4 separate regions of the Homo sapiens genome follow, and all the other regions are linked to region 4. Evidence: promoter capture Hi-C in 16 types of primary human blood cells and fetal thymus (Javierre and others, 2016). All regions are on one chromosome and are shown on one strand. Each heading gives the region's core, a stretch centred on a gene start or on the middle of the fragment in contact. The rest is flanking DNA. Distances are from core to core; before and after follow the strand shown. Region 1 has its middle 71 kb from the start of LGSN. Region 2 has its middle 93 kb from the start of PTP4A1. Region 3 has its middle 90 kb from the start of LGSN. Region 4 holds the start of PHF3 (PHD finger protein 3).

The links. The method cuts DNA at HindIII sites, captures the fragments that hold promoters and counts their contacts. A CHiCAGO score of 5 or more calls a contact.
Region 1: a contact is called between a fragment that was not itself captured here and the fragment with the promoter of PHF3 in region 4, in 2 of 17 cell types (neutrophils and monocytes). The highest score is 6.0, in neutrophils.
Region 2: a fragment that was not itself captured here is called in contact with the fragment with the promoter of PHF3 in region 4 in 1 of 17 cell types (non-activated CD4 T cells); the score reaches 5.3 in non-activated CD4 T cells.
Region 3: a contact is called between a fragment that was not itself captured here and the fragment with the promoter of PHF3 in region 4, in 1 of 17 cell types (monocytes). The highest score is 6.2, in monocytes.

The regions. Positions count from the first base shown.
Region 1 is chr6:63,389,524-63,392,391 of GRCh38, reverse strand. It overlaps a transcript of LGSN not described here. Among named protein-coding and RNA genes, the nearest start is that of LGSN, 71 kb to the right of the region's middle. RefSeq lists an enhancer at 2,739-2,828. The HindIII fragment of the contact is 3,198 bases long and covers 1-2,868 here.
Region 2 is chr6:63,478,388-63,481,227 of GRCh38, reverse strand. It overlaps a transcript of LGSN not described here and the pseudogene EEF1B2P5. Among named protein-coding and RNA genes, the nearest start is that of PTP4A1, 93 kb to the left of the region's middle. The HindIII fragment of the contact is 1,408 bases long and covers 874-2,281 here.
Region 3 is chr6:63,408,916-63,411,798 of GRCh38, reverse strand. It overlaps a transcript of LGSN not described here. Among named protein-coding and RNA genes, the nearest start is that of LGSN, 90 kb to the right of the region's middle. The HindIII fragment of the contact is 5,935 bases long and covers 1-2,883 here.
Region 4 is chr6:63,634,548-63,637,247 of GRCh38, reverse strand. It overlaps PHF3 (PHD finger protein 3), which reads right to left and starts at 1,446. Exons shown (of 16, transcript NM_001370348.2): 1 at 1,098-1,446. RefSeq lists silencers at 672-851, 1,292-1,651 and enhancers at 869-1,689, 2,221-2,700. The HindIII fragment of the contact is 3,030 bases long and covers 1-2,466 here.

The DNA of each region.
Region 1 (2,868 bases), core at 242-2,741, 240 kb after region 4:
CTGGTGGGCATGATAGTGCTGCTCTCATTTACAGAAGGGGCCCCTGCTGTGGAGGTTTGTCTCAAGGCTGGGCCTAAGCAGGCCTGCAGCAGAGGCAGGCCCAGGGCCAGGAGCAGCCCTAGGCCAGGGTTTGCCATGGGCTGGGTGTCTGGTTGGCAGCACTGAGGAAGGGGCTTCTAGCACTGCGCCCCTCCTACTTCATATCAGTACATGAGTACCTGAGAGGCACCTGGCCTGGGCGTCTTTGACCTCTCTCAGATTTCTGGTCCATGCCCCTCCTCTTTTATAATCTTATGGGACCACTGTTTTATATGTGGTCCATTGTTGACCAGAATGTTTTTATACAGTACATGACTATAATTACTTGGAATTTTGGGGTGGAGGATGAAACCAGTGTTGTTGTTTTGTAATTTTTAAAAATAAACTTTCATATCATTGATTCCTTAAAAGAAGACTTATACTGGAGAGGAGACCAAGTTGCTCTGTGCGTCAACCCATGCTCATTGTCCTTCCATGTCCAAAGACCTCTTCTATGAAAGACAGCTGAGTGTTTCTCTGCTCCTAGGGCCCTTATGCTTTACATCATGTGACTTCTGCTTTTCTGGACCAGCAATGACTTAGTTCAAGGATTAACCTTTGAGACAGAGATAGCTAAAAGCCTCGCTATCAGCCCATGAAGTGTAACTGAACTCTGCCCAGCAAGAATGGTCAATATTGGATGTTGACTAACCGTAAAGCAGATCTCCCTTGGGAATTTGGAGGGAAACTTAAGTGAGCAGGAACTAGAGACACATTGAGGCTTCAGAAATCACAAGACAGTAAAAGCTAACACAGACCTTGAGGTGGAGAGAAGGCAAGTGGAGAGAACAGTGTTGGAGGATACAGAGGTACAAGCAGAGACTGAAATCAACCCACTTACAAGTTGGGAATCCTTGTCAGAAAAAGCAACAGAAGTTTACAGATGCATGGATCTTTGCAGATGTTGCTGTTGAGTGTAAGAGCTGCTATCAGTCCTCTACATTGTGTATTCTGAATGAGCTACAGTTCCAGCTGCTGGCTGAGTAGTTGCTAAGACACAACCTCTTGGTTCTTACTTCCCTTCCATATCTTTAGACCTACACCAACTAAGATAACTTGAAAATGTCATGTTTTTCTCAAACCCAAATAGGATTGACTGCTAAGGACATTTATACATTGCAAATAAATTATTTAATAGCAAATTTGTCTCCATTATCATATTTTTTAAAAACGAGATTTTAAATAATGCTAAATGAGTCTTACCTGTGTACATATTCTATTAGAGCTATTTGAGATCTGATAATACTTAGTAATTCTATTTGTCTATTTAACAGAAGCAATCAATTTATTTCAGATTACCTTTTATCCAAAGAGAAGGTAAAAGTATGCATCCTTTCCAATGGAACTTGTTATAATTCAAATAATTGAAAGTGAATGGAGAGAGATAAGAAAGTTAAGGATATTATCTGAACTAATTCAATTCCAATTTTCTTTTCTTTTTTTTTTTTTTTTTTGAGATGGAGTCTTGCTCTGTCGCCCAGGCTGGAGTGCAGTGGCGTGATCTCGGCTCACTGCAGGCTCCGTCCCCCGGGGTTCACGCCATTCTCCTGCCTCAGCCTCCCGAGTAGCTGGGACTACAGGCACCCGCCACCTCGCCCGGCTACTTTTTTTTTGTATTTTTAGTAGAGACGGGGTTTCACCGTGTTAGCCAGGATGGTCTCGATCTCCTGACCTCGTGATCCGCCCGCCTCGGCCTCCCAAAGTGCTGGGATTACAGGCGTGAGCCACCGCGCCTGGCCGATTCCAATTTTCAATAAAACAAATTCAATTCCTGTGTAACAATCTCCTCCCTGTTGATAAAAAAAAATCTGACAATGAAGTGGTGAATTTGGCAATAGGTCATGCATTCTAAGAAAATAATAGTTGATCAAAATTTGTGGAATCCGGCTGGCACAATGGCTCAAACCTGTAATCCCAGCACTTTGGGAGGCCAAGGCAGGTGGATCACCTGAGGTTAGGAGTTTGAGACCAGCCTGGCCAACATGGTGAAAACCCATCTCTACTAACGATACAAAAATTAGCCAGTAGTGGTGGTGCATGTCTTTAATCCCAGCTACTTGGGAGGCTGAGGCACAAGAATCGCTTGACCCTGGAAGAAGGAGGTTGCAGTGAGACAAGATTGCGCCACTGCACTCCAGCCTGGGTGACAGAGCGAGACTCTGCCTCAAAAAAAAAAAAAAAAAAAAAAAAAAAAAGAAAGAAAGAAAGAAAGTGTCCAAATACTTCAGCTGTAGAATTATTCTTTATACAGTTTCTGAGACCATTAGAGTCTTTTCTCTTCATTTTCTACATCTCCCTACTTAGCATTCACAAAAGGTGTGTTTTCTTTAGGCTTAGATTAGACCTAGAAAATTTTCTCTCACCATTTTTTTTTGTGGGGGATGGGGGAGGAAGAGAAAAAGGAGATAAACTTTGAAGCATGTACATTAATGCACTTAATGTCTGGAGCACAATGACTAAATTATTTTTAGTGTAAAAAATAATTTAAAATGACTGCATTTTATGATCTCTATTTCTGTATGCACTACCTTTGAATTTCTGTATTGGAATAATAGTACTGATATGATCGTCTCCATTAGTAGATTCATGAACTATCATGGTTTGGTTTACTCACTGGCTTACATACTTAATATTGAAATGCAACCATGTAGCAGTTTCACAGCACAGAGTGGCAACCAAGAGTTTTGTATACAGATAAGATTTAAGTGAAACTACACAGGACCATTGTTCAAAACAGAAGCCATGCTTTCCTTAAGGTTAAACACAGTTCCTTCAAATTTTTCTCTTTTG
Region 2 (2,840 bases), core at 328-2,827, 160 kb after region 4:
GCACCGCCCCTTCTGAGTCTCAAGGTCACATTATATCACTTTGTATGCCTTTGCATACTCATAGCTTAGCTTCCACTTATAAGTGAGAACACACGGTTTTTTGGTTTTTCACTCCTGAGTTACTTCACTTAGAATAATGGCCACCAGCTTCATCTAAGTTGCTGCAAAAGACATTCATTCCCTTTCATGGTTGAGTAGTATTCCATGGTATGTATGTATGTATGTATGTATGTGTGTGTGTATATATATATATATATATATATATATATATATATATATATATATATCATTTTCTTTATCCACTCATTAGTCAGTGGGCACTTAGGTTGGTTCCACATCTTTGCAGCTGTGAATTGTAATTATGTTGCTATAAAAATATGTGTGCAAGTTTTTTTTTTTTTTTTTCATATAATGACTTCTTTTCCTTTGGGTAGATACCAAGAGGTGGAATTGCTGGACCAAATGGTAAATTTACTTTCAGTTCTTTAAAGAATCTCTATACTGTTTTCCATAGAGGTTGTACTTATTTGCATTCCCACCAGCAATGTGTTAAGTGTTTCCTTTTCACCACATCCATGCCAAAATCTATTGCTTTTTGACTTTTTAATGACACTCTTCTAATTTTGTCATATCTGTCTCATTATCACAAGGTTTCACATCTAGTGAGATGAAAGATGGCAACAGGGGCAGGTTTTTTTTTTGGCTTTCTTTGATTCATACTATGCAGGGTATTCTTCCCTTTGCCTTTTTGATTCTTTGCTTTCCTCCCCCTTATCAAATCCAAATAGATAAATGTCATTGTCATCTTCACTATCTGTAGCTCCACTTCCTCTACTATCTTCCACATTAGCAGGTCCATACTTGCCCAAAGCTTTCTTCATTCCTGCTAGGCTGGCTTTTTCCTTTTCGTAAGACTTGATGTAATTATACCAATGTAGAGCATGACACAAATTACCGGACAATGGACTGGAGACTGCTTCAATTACTGCCACGTCTGCTTGTGATGGCACATACCCCTTGTTGCAGCTCTGGTCAGCCAGGTAACCATTGTGCACCTGGAGGCCAGTGGGGCTTTTCAGGTCTCTGAAACCCATGGCATCAGCTGCATCTGAGAGCTGGGTAGCAGCAAAAGGAAGGAACACAGGTTGTGAATGCCTAGCACTAAGAGAGGAAACAGGGTGCCTGGGGTTGTTGTAAAGAGTGAGTGGGAGTAATGACCTTAGAGAAAAGGCCCCCACTAAAATGTGGACTTCATGAAGGCACAGTTTTGCTTTGTTTTATTCCCTCCTGTATCTCCAGTGACTAGAGAGGTACCTGGCAAATAGTAAGTGCTTGATAAACAATTGCTGATAAATGACTGAATGATTAGGAAATAGGTGATTTAGACTTTGTAAGTATGGCCAAATCAATTAAACAGAGTCTCAGATTCTTCATCTATAAAATGAGGAGTTCAAATTGAGCACTTTTTGTTTGTTTGTTTGTTTGTTTGAGACGGAGTCTCACTCTGTCGCCCAAGCTGGAGTGCAGTGGCATGATCTCGACTCACTGCAATCTCCATCTCCCGGGTTCATGCCATTCTCCTGCCTCAGCCTCCTGAGTAGTTGGGACTACAGGTGCCCACCACCATGCTCAGCTAATTTTTTTGTGTTTTTAGTAGAGACGGGGTTTCACCATATTGGCCAGGATGGTCTCGATCTCCTGACCTCGAGATCCGCCAGCCTCGGCCTCTGAAAATGCTGGGATTATAGGCGTGACCCACTGAGCCCAGCCTTGGGTACATTTTAGGATTTCATTTAGCTCTAACATTCCATTGCTGAAAAGAAAAAAAAAAAAAGAAGTTGTTACTGTACCTCCTACTTCACTTTGTCTACTTTACTAGATATATTTTCATCGATAGGCCAGAAAAATTATAGTGAATGTTGTTTGTCTTTCCAGCATCTATTACTTCCTTTCCCCTGCCTAAGAGTACTTAAATTTTCATCTGGGTCTCCCTTGCTGATACGCTTTGAAAGCAGTTGATCACCAGAAATGGACTGTGATTGACCAAAGCCAATCTCAGTAAGCCCATCTCCCTTGATGCAGTGATTGGTTGAGGCCTGGGTTGTCTAATCTAACCAGTTAAGTTAGCATTTCTCTGTCAGAAATGGACTCCTGTCTCCAGACAGACCAGTGAGTTATGGATAAAGGGATTTTTGGGAAAAGTGTTTCTTGGCTCTTCTGAGAGTACAACTGAAAGACATGTTCTCTCTTGTCTGTATCCTTTTATACGTCTCTGTAAGCTTGGAACCATTGTAACCACTGTGGTATCATGAAGGTTGTAAACCTTGGAATAAGCTGACACTGTAGAAGGAAAAGCTGAGAGAGGAAAAATTAAGTCTTTGATAAAATCACTGAACTCTTGCATCAAACCAACCTTAAAGCACACCCTACCTTTTGAATTTCTAGTTCATAAACCAATAAACACCTTAATTATTTACTCAAGCTTGTCTTTGATATTTGCAGTTTTCTTTGAGGAAATAAGTTTAAATTCTTGAATCTTTAGAGTAGGATGAACTGATGATCGTCTATATGATTAGAATGAGCCGTACATGGGGGTGGTGAGGCAGCATTTTCAGCTAGGGATTATTTTTGGCTCTTTGTTCCTCAGAATACTTCTTTTCAGCTTACCTCTCACAACCCCACCTGGGTGATGTAACTCAACTTATTTAGGGTGGATGATGGAAATTTAGATTTTTTTTTTTCAGAACGTCCTAGGGCCCACAGGAGTATTAGGGAAAGCAATACATGAAGAGTTGTACTTAGTTACCAGAACATTTTCATCACCCCCAAAAAGAAACCAT
Region 3 (2,883 bases), core at 264-2,763, 230 kb after region 4:
CATGACTCAGTGCAGCCCCAACCAACCTCAGCCTGGGCCCAAGGGATTCTTGTGCTTCAACATCCTGAGTAGCTGGGACTACAGGTGCACACCACCACATCCAGCTAATATTTTTTATTTTTTGTAGACTCAGAGTCTGACCATGTTGTCTTGGTTAGCTCAAACTCCTGGGCTCAAAGGATCCTCCCTTCTCGGCCTCCCAAAGTACTCGGATTACAGGTGTAGCCACCATGCCTGGCCTTAGCACAATATTAAGCACTTCATAAGGCCTCAATAAAAATTAATTTTATTATTATTACCATTAATAGTGTGAGCAGCGCAATAGAACTATAGATCAAGTCTCTGTCTTCAAGGACAGATCTTAAAATTCAGTAATGGAGGAGATATGGCATGTAGAAAGAAGATGACACACAAGCCAAGGCTATGTCCTAGTGTAACTTATCTCTGATGCCCTTGCCTACTTTCTCCTTACCTGCTATCCCCTTTACTTGATAACTAACAAAACCGAAAACTGAAAGTAACTGGGAGAATGTCTGCGTAAATGTTAGCTCACAGCGTAATTCCTGGTGCTTGGGAAAATTCCAAATCACGAATATAGACTTTGACCAAGAGATCTTTGGGACAGTCAATATTATTCTTTAGAGAGCTGGCAAAATTTCTAGTCAATTTTAGGAAGAGGCCCTTGGAGTATTTCTGGAGTCCTGAGGCTACTTTGGAGATGAGATGAACTGTAGTTGTGTGTCTGAGAAATAATCCTGATAAATTTAGGCACAATTTACATTTCCTACTAACTCAGTAGGTGTCTCTAAATATCCCCAAGAAATAGCCTGTACTGACATTTCTGGCCTAGCTTTATGCCAAACCTCGTTGCTTAGGAATTGGAAAAAAACTGGTTTTGACCTGAGGAAGTGGTATGTTTGGAGCATGAGGCAGCAACCATTTACCAGCATGTGGGGTCATTAAGATTTCATGAGCTTTTTCTGTGCTACTCAAGTCCACCAAAATTGTTTCAACACCTATTAAGTGCCCAATACCATACTAAATACTTGGTTAAAACACATGTCATAGGTTCTTGTCCTTGAATAGCTTAACAATTTCCAAGGAGCAGGTTTTAAACTGCGTTCATTGCACTTTATGGTTCCAAGAAAGAAGCCCCAGAGCCAATACTGGCTTTAGTGTAATTTTAGAATTGCACCTAGCACATAATAAATGCCCAAATTGTGTTAGCCTTGTGGGTTTATAGTTCAACTGAAAAACTTTTATTGGCTTTATACCATTGATATATATTTATATATTGATCTGAATAAGATTTTATTTGAAAAAAGTTTCTGCTGCTAAATAAAGTTTAAAAAACTAATGATCTCAGGTATCTCATTTCAGAGTCGTACTAAAAATTAATATAAACATTCCATAAAGACTTTACTCAATTTTATAATATTATAGAGTCCCACTTTTGATTAAATGAATGTCTACAAAAAGTCAAAACATTTTGACTAATATGTACACTTTACTGAGTTTAGAATGGACCAATTATAGATAATAGGAAACAAGACTTATAGCCACAAACATTATGAAACTTTGTATGTGTCAAACCTGTACCCGTTTTTGTGAACATTATAAAGGATAACATGTATTGAGTGCCAGGTACTATTCTAAATCATTTTAAATATTTTATGTCATATCTTCATAGCCATATTAAGAGACAGGTACTATTTTATAGATGAGGTAATACCTTATTATTTTATTTTATTTTAATTTTTTTGAGATGGAGTCTTGCTCTTTTGCCCAGGCTGAAGTGCAGTAGCACTATCTTGGCTCACTGCAACCTCCGCCTCCTGTGTTCAAGCAGTTCTTCCTGCCTCAGCCTCCCGAATAGCTGGGATTACAGGCACCCACCACCATGCCCGGCTAATTTTTCTATTTTTAGTAGAGATGAGGTTTCGCCATGTTGGCCAGGCTGGTCTTGAACTCCTGACCTCAAGTGATCTGCCCATCTCGGCCTTCCAAAGTGCTGGGATTACAGGTGTGAGCTGCCACACCCGGCTGAGGTAATAACTAAAGACTAGAAATATTTAACATGACCCAAATCATGTAGCAAAAAAGTCTGTTTGTATAAAAACACAAGGCCATCTGAGCTATTAAGTATTATTATCCCAATTTTATAAATGCAGAAACTGAGATCTGAAATATCAGAATTTTTGTCTTAAATTATACAGCTATTAACTGTCAGAGCTGAAATTTAAAATAAGGTCATCTGACCCCAAATCTGGTATTTAAGGACTACCATAATGGTTAGAAATAGTTAAAACTTAGCAAAATATAAATTGGTTGTTTGTAACAATTGTGTAAAGTGAATACTTGATCAAGAAGTTTAGATATATGTAAAAATTTCTTAAAATACTTGATCAAGAAGTTTAGATATATGTAAAACTATCTTAAAAAGCCTGAATAGACTGACTAGATTACATTTTGTGGTTATTAATATATCTAAAGAAAGATTACATTAATCTAAAGAAACACTTAACATCTTTGTTGAGATATATCCCTAAGTGTTTCATGTATTTATGACATTACAAAAAATATTTTTGGCTGGGTGTGGTGGCTCACACCTATAATCTCAGTGCTTTGGGAGACTAAGGCAGGAATATCACTTGAGGGCAGAAATCTGAGATGAGCATGGTTAACACAGCATGATCCTGTCTCTACAAAATATTTTAAAAAGTAGCTGGGCGTGATGGTGTGCACCTACAGTCCTAGTTACTTGGGAGGCTGAGGCAGGAGGATCACTTGAGCCCAGAAGTTCGAGGCTGCAATGAGCTATAATTGCACTACTGCACTCCAGCCTGGGCAATAGAGTAAGACTCCATCTCAAAGAAAAACAAA
Region 4 (2,700 bases), core at 197-2,696:
ACTGTTTAAGTACTCCCTACAGAGTTTACTGCATTGGTTTTTAAATTTAGCTTAAAATAAGATAGTAAAGTTAGTATTTAGAGAAGCCTCAATAATCGATTATTCTTTTTAAATTAAATATCGCTACATGTAATGCAGATTAGGACTAGAATATTAAAGCAGTGTTGCCACTTAACATTAATCCATGAACATATTCTACGCGTGACTACTGGAAAGCACTAATAACCACCCCAATCTAGTCTCTAGGAATTGGCATTTAAAAGCCCAAAGATGGAAAAAGGTCACCTAACCCGGCAACACATCCTGAGGGAAAGGAGGGACACAGGACTCCGTGCGCGATATCAACATTCTCTTCCTTTCTACTCTCCGCACCGCCCCCGCCCCCCGTGTCAGGTGATCAGTTATTTAGCACCATTAACACGTACGTATCGACAAGTGGTTCATTAAATTACATGTATTATCGGAAGGCAAGAGTCTAGGCTTCTCATTTCAAACTAAGCAAAAGGAGTCCACAGTTTGAGTCCCGGGCACAAAAGCGCGCGGTAACTGGAGGATAAATGGAAGAGCAACTCTCATCTCCAAAAAGCAGCAGCAGGGAGCAGCCTAGCAGCCAGGGCCAGTCCCAGTTTCCCGAAACCAAGGCCCAAAGCTCCATGCTGGGGCTCCCTGAGAAGGAAGAGGCCCCAACGGCCGGATCCGGGGGCCTGCGAGACGGGCCTTCCAGGCAGCGCCCGCCGTGCCTCGGGCCTGCGCGCCCGCGCCTCAGCGGCGGCGGGGCGCCCTCGCAGCAGACGGCTGGGTACCAGTGGTCGGGAGAGAGGCCGTGGTCCCGACCCTCCGCCTGGCGACCGCGTCGCTGCGACTCCCTCCCCAGCCCGCGGTCCAAATGGTCCACAGGCGCCAGCGGCGCGGCCCAGGTAGGCCGAGGACGTTGCGCAAGAGGCCCGAGAGGCGATCTCTCGGCTGCGCGGGAGAAAAGCGCGGAGAGTCCGCCGCGGGAGGGGCGGAGAGGCCCGCGGAGGCGCTGTGCGTGTGGAAGGGGATGGGGGAGGGGAGGATTGCCCGTCTCCCTGGCCGCGGCCACAGCCGCAACTCACCCAGCTCCGCCAGACGAGCGCTACCACTGGCAGCAAGAGGAAGATGGTGGACGCTGCCGCCGCCGAAGAGGAGGAGGAGGGGGCCCGGTGGGTGCCGCGGAGAGGGGGTACGCGCAGGACGTCGGCGTCGCTGCCACAGCCTCTTTTCCTCCTGGGACCAAATGGCTGCTGCTGACGACACTATTCTTGGCTTCCGCGCCGCCCTCCTAATCCTCGTTGCAGCCGCCGCCGCCCTGAGCCCGAAGGTCGCTTGCCGCGTGGGGACGGTGCGACGGCGCGAGACCCCGCAGCCATCGGCGTGCGGCGGCGGCGCGGGAGCTGGAGAGGGGCCGTGTCACGTGACCCCACTGTTTACCGTTCCGGGGGCCGCGGCCTGCGTCGCTGCCGCGCCTGCGCGCTTTAGGGCCTCGAGCGCCGCGCCTCCGTGGGGCCCCGGGCTGCAGCGCTTCCCGGCGTTGCCGCGCCCCTCCCTGTCTTCGGAGGACGCGGCACCGCCTGCGGGCTTCTAGCTCACACCTCCGCGCCGCCGGGAGGGGCGAATCAGAGGAGCGCTTTTTCTCGACCGTAGTAAGCACTAAGGCTTCACAGTTAATATAATATTGATGCGCAGCTCCCCAACCCCAGGTACTTTTTATTAATTGACTGTGAGTTCAAGAATGGTAGAATAGGATGGAGTAGATGAGCCCTCTGCCCAAATATCTGTGCTGGCTCGGCACAGCAGCCTTACCATTAACTACCTCCGTTACCCTCACCCTACATGGCTGATCTACCTCAGGACTCAAATTGCTACCTCCAAGAAACATTCTTGGTATCCAGTAAGCAGTCTTCAGAATGTGGTCCCAGGTTTCCCTGAGGGGTCGCCAAGACCTTTCAGTAGAGCCTCCATTCCTTTGCCAGGAGCATGTGTCTAAGGCCAAATTTTCTTCCCACCCTTCAACCAAAACAGCATATAGCAGCTGATTCAATGCAGAAACAGATAAGAGAATCCAGCCATCTTCTATTAAGCCAGACATTGAGGAAATCTGCAGAAATTTTAGATATCACCCTTTTATTAATTTGGAAAATATGCTTTTCATAAATACATTATTTGTGGTAACAAATATTGTGTAGAGGTCCAGAGACAAAAAAAGTTTGAGACCCACTGGTCTGCTTCCACAGACACTTGAGCTAACCCCTATCTCAGCCCTTAATAAGCGCTGTGAAGTAATTGTTGCTTGTCAGTCACTCCAACCAAAAGGAGCTACTTAGGGACAGGGTTTGTGGCTTTTATCTACAGGGACTATTACAGTATTCAGCCAGTACCTGCTGAGCACCTTACTGTGTGGTCTGCACTGTTCTAAAACCTTTACAGTACTTGTTGATTTAAGCTTTAGACCAACCGCAGCCCACATTGTAAGATTAGTGCAGGGTGGAAGAATAAGTCACAGGCATGTGGTGAAGATCTGTTCTTTCCTCTCTCTAGTCTTCTGATATTTTAAGCACTCTTAATAGCAAATGCTCTTCTACAAAGGAAGTTTGGGTTGTCCTGATTCCACTGGATTCTTAAGAGTTTCACCCCCTGTCTTGACTAATCAATCCCTCAAGACTTTGTTTTACAATCTTT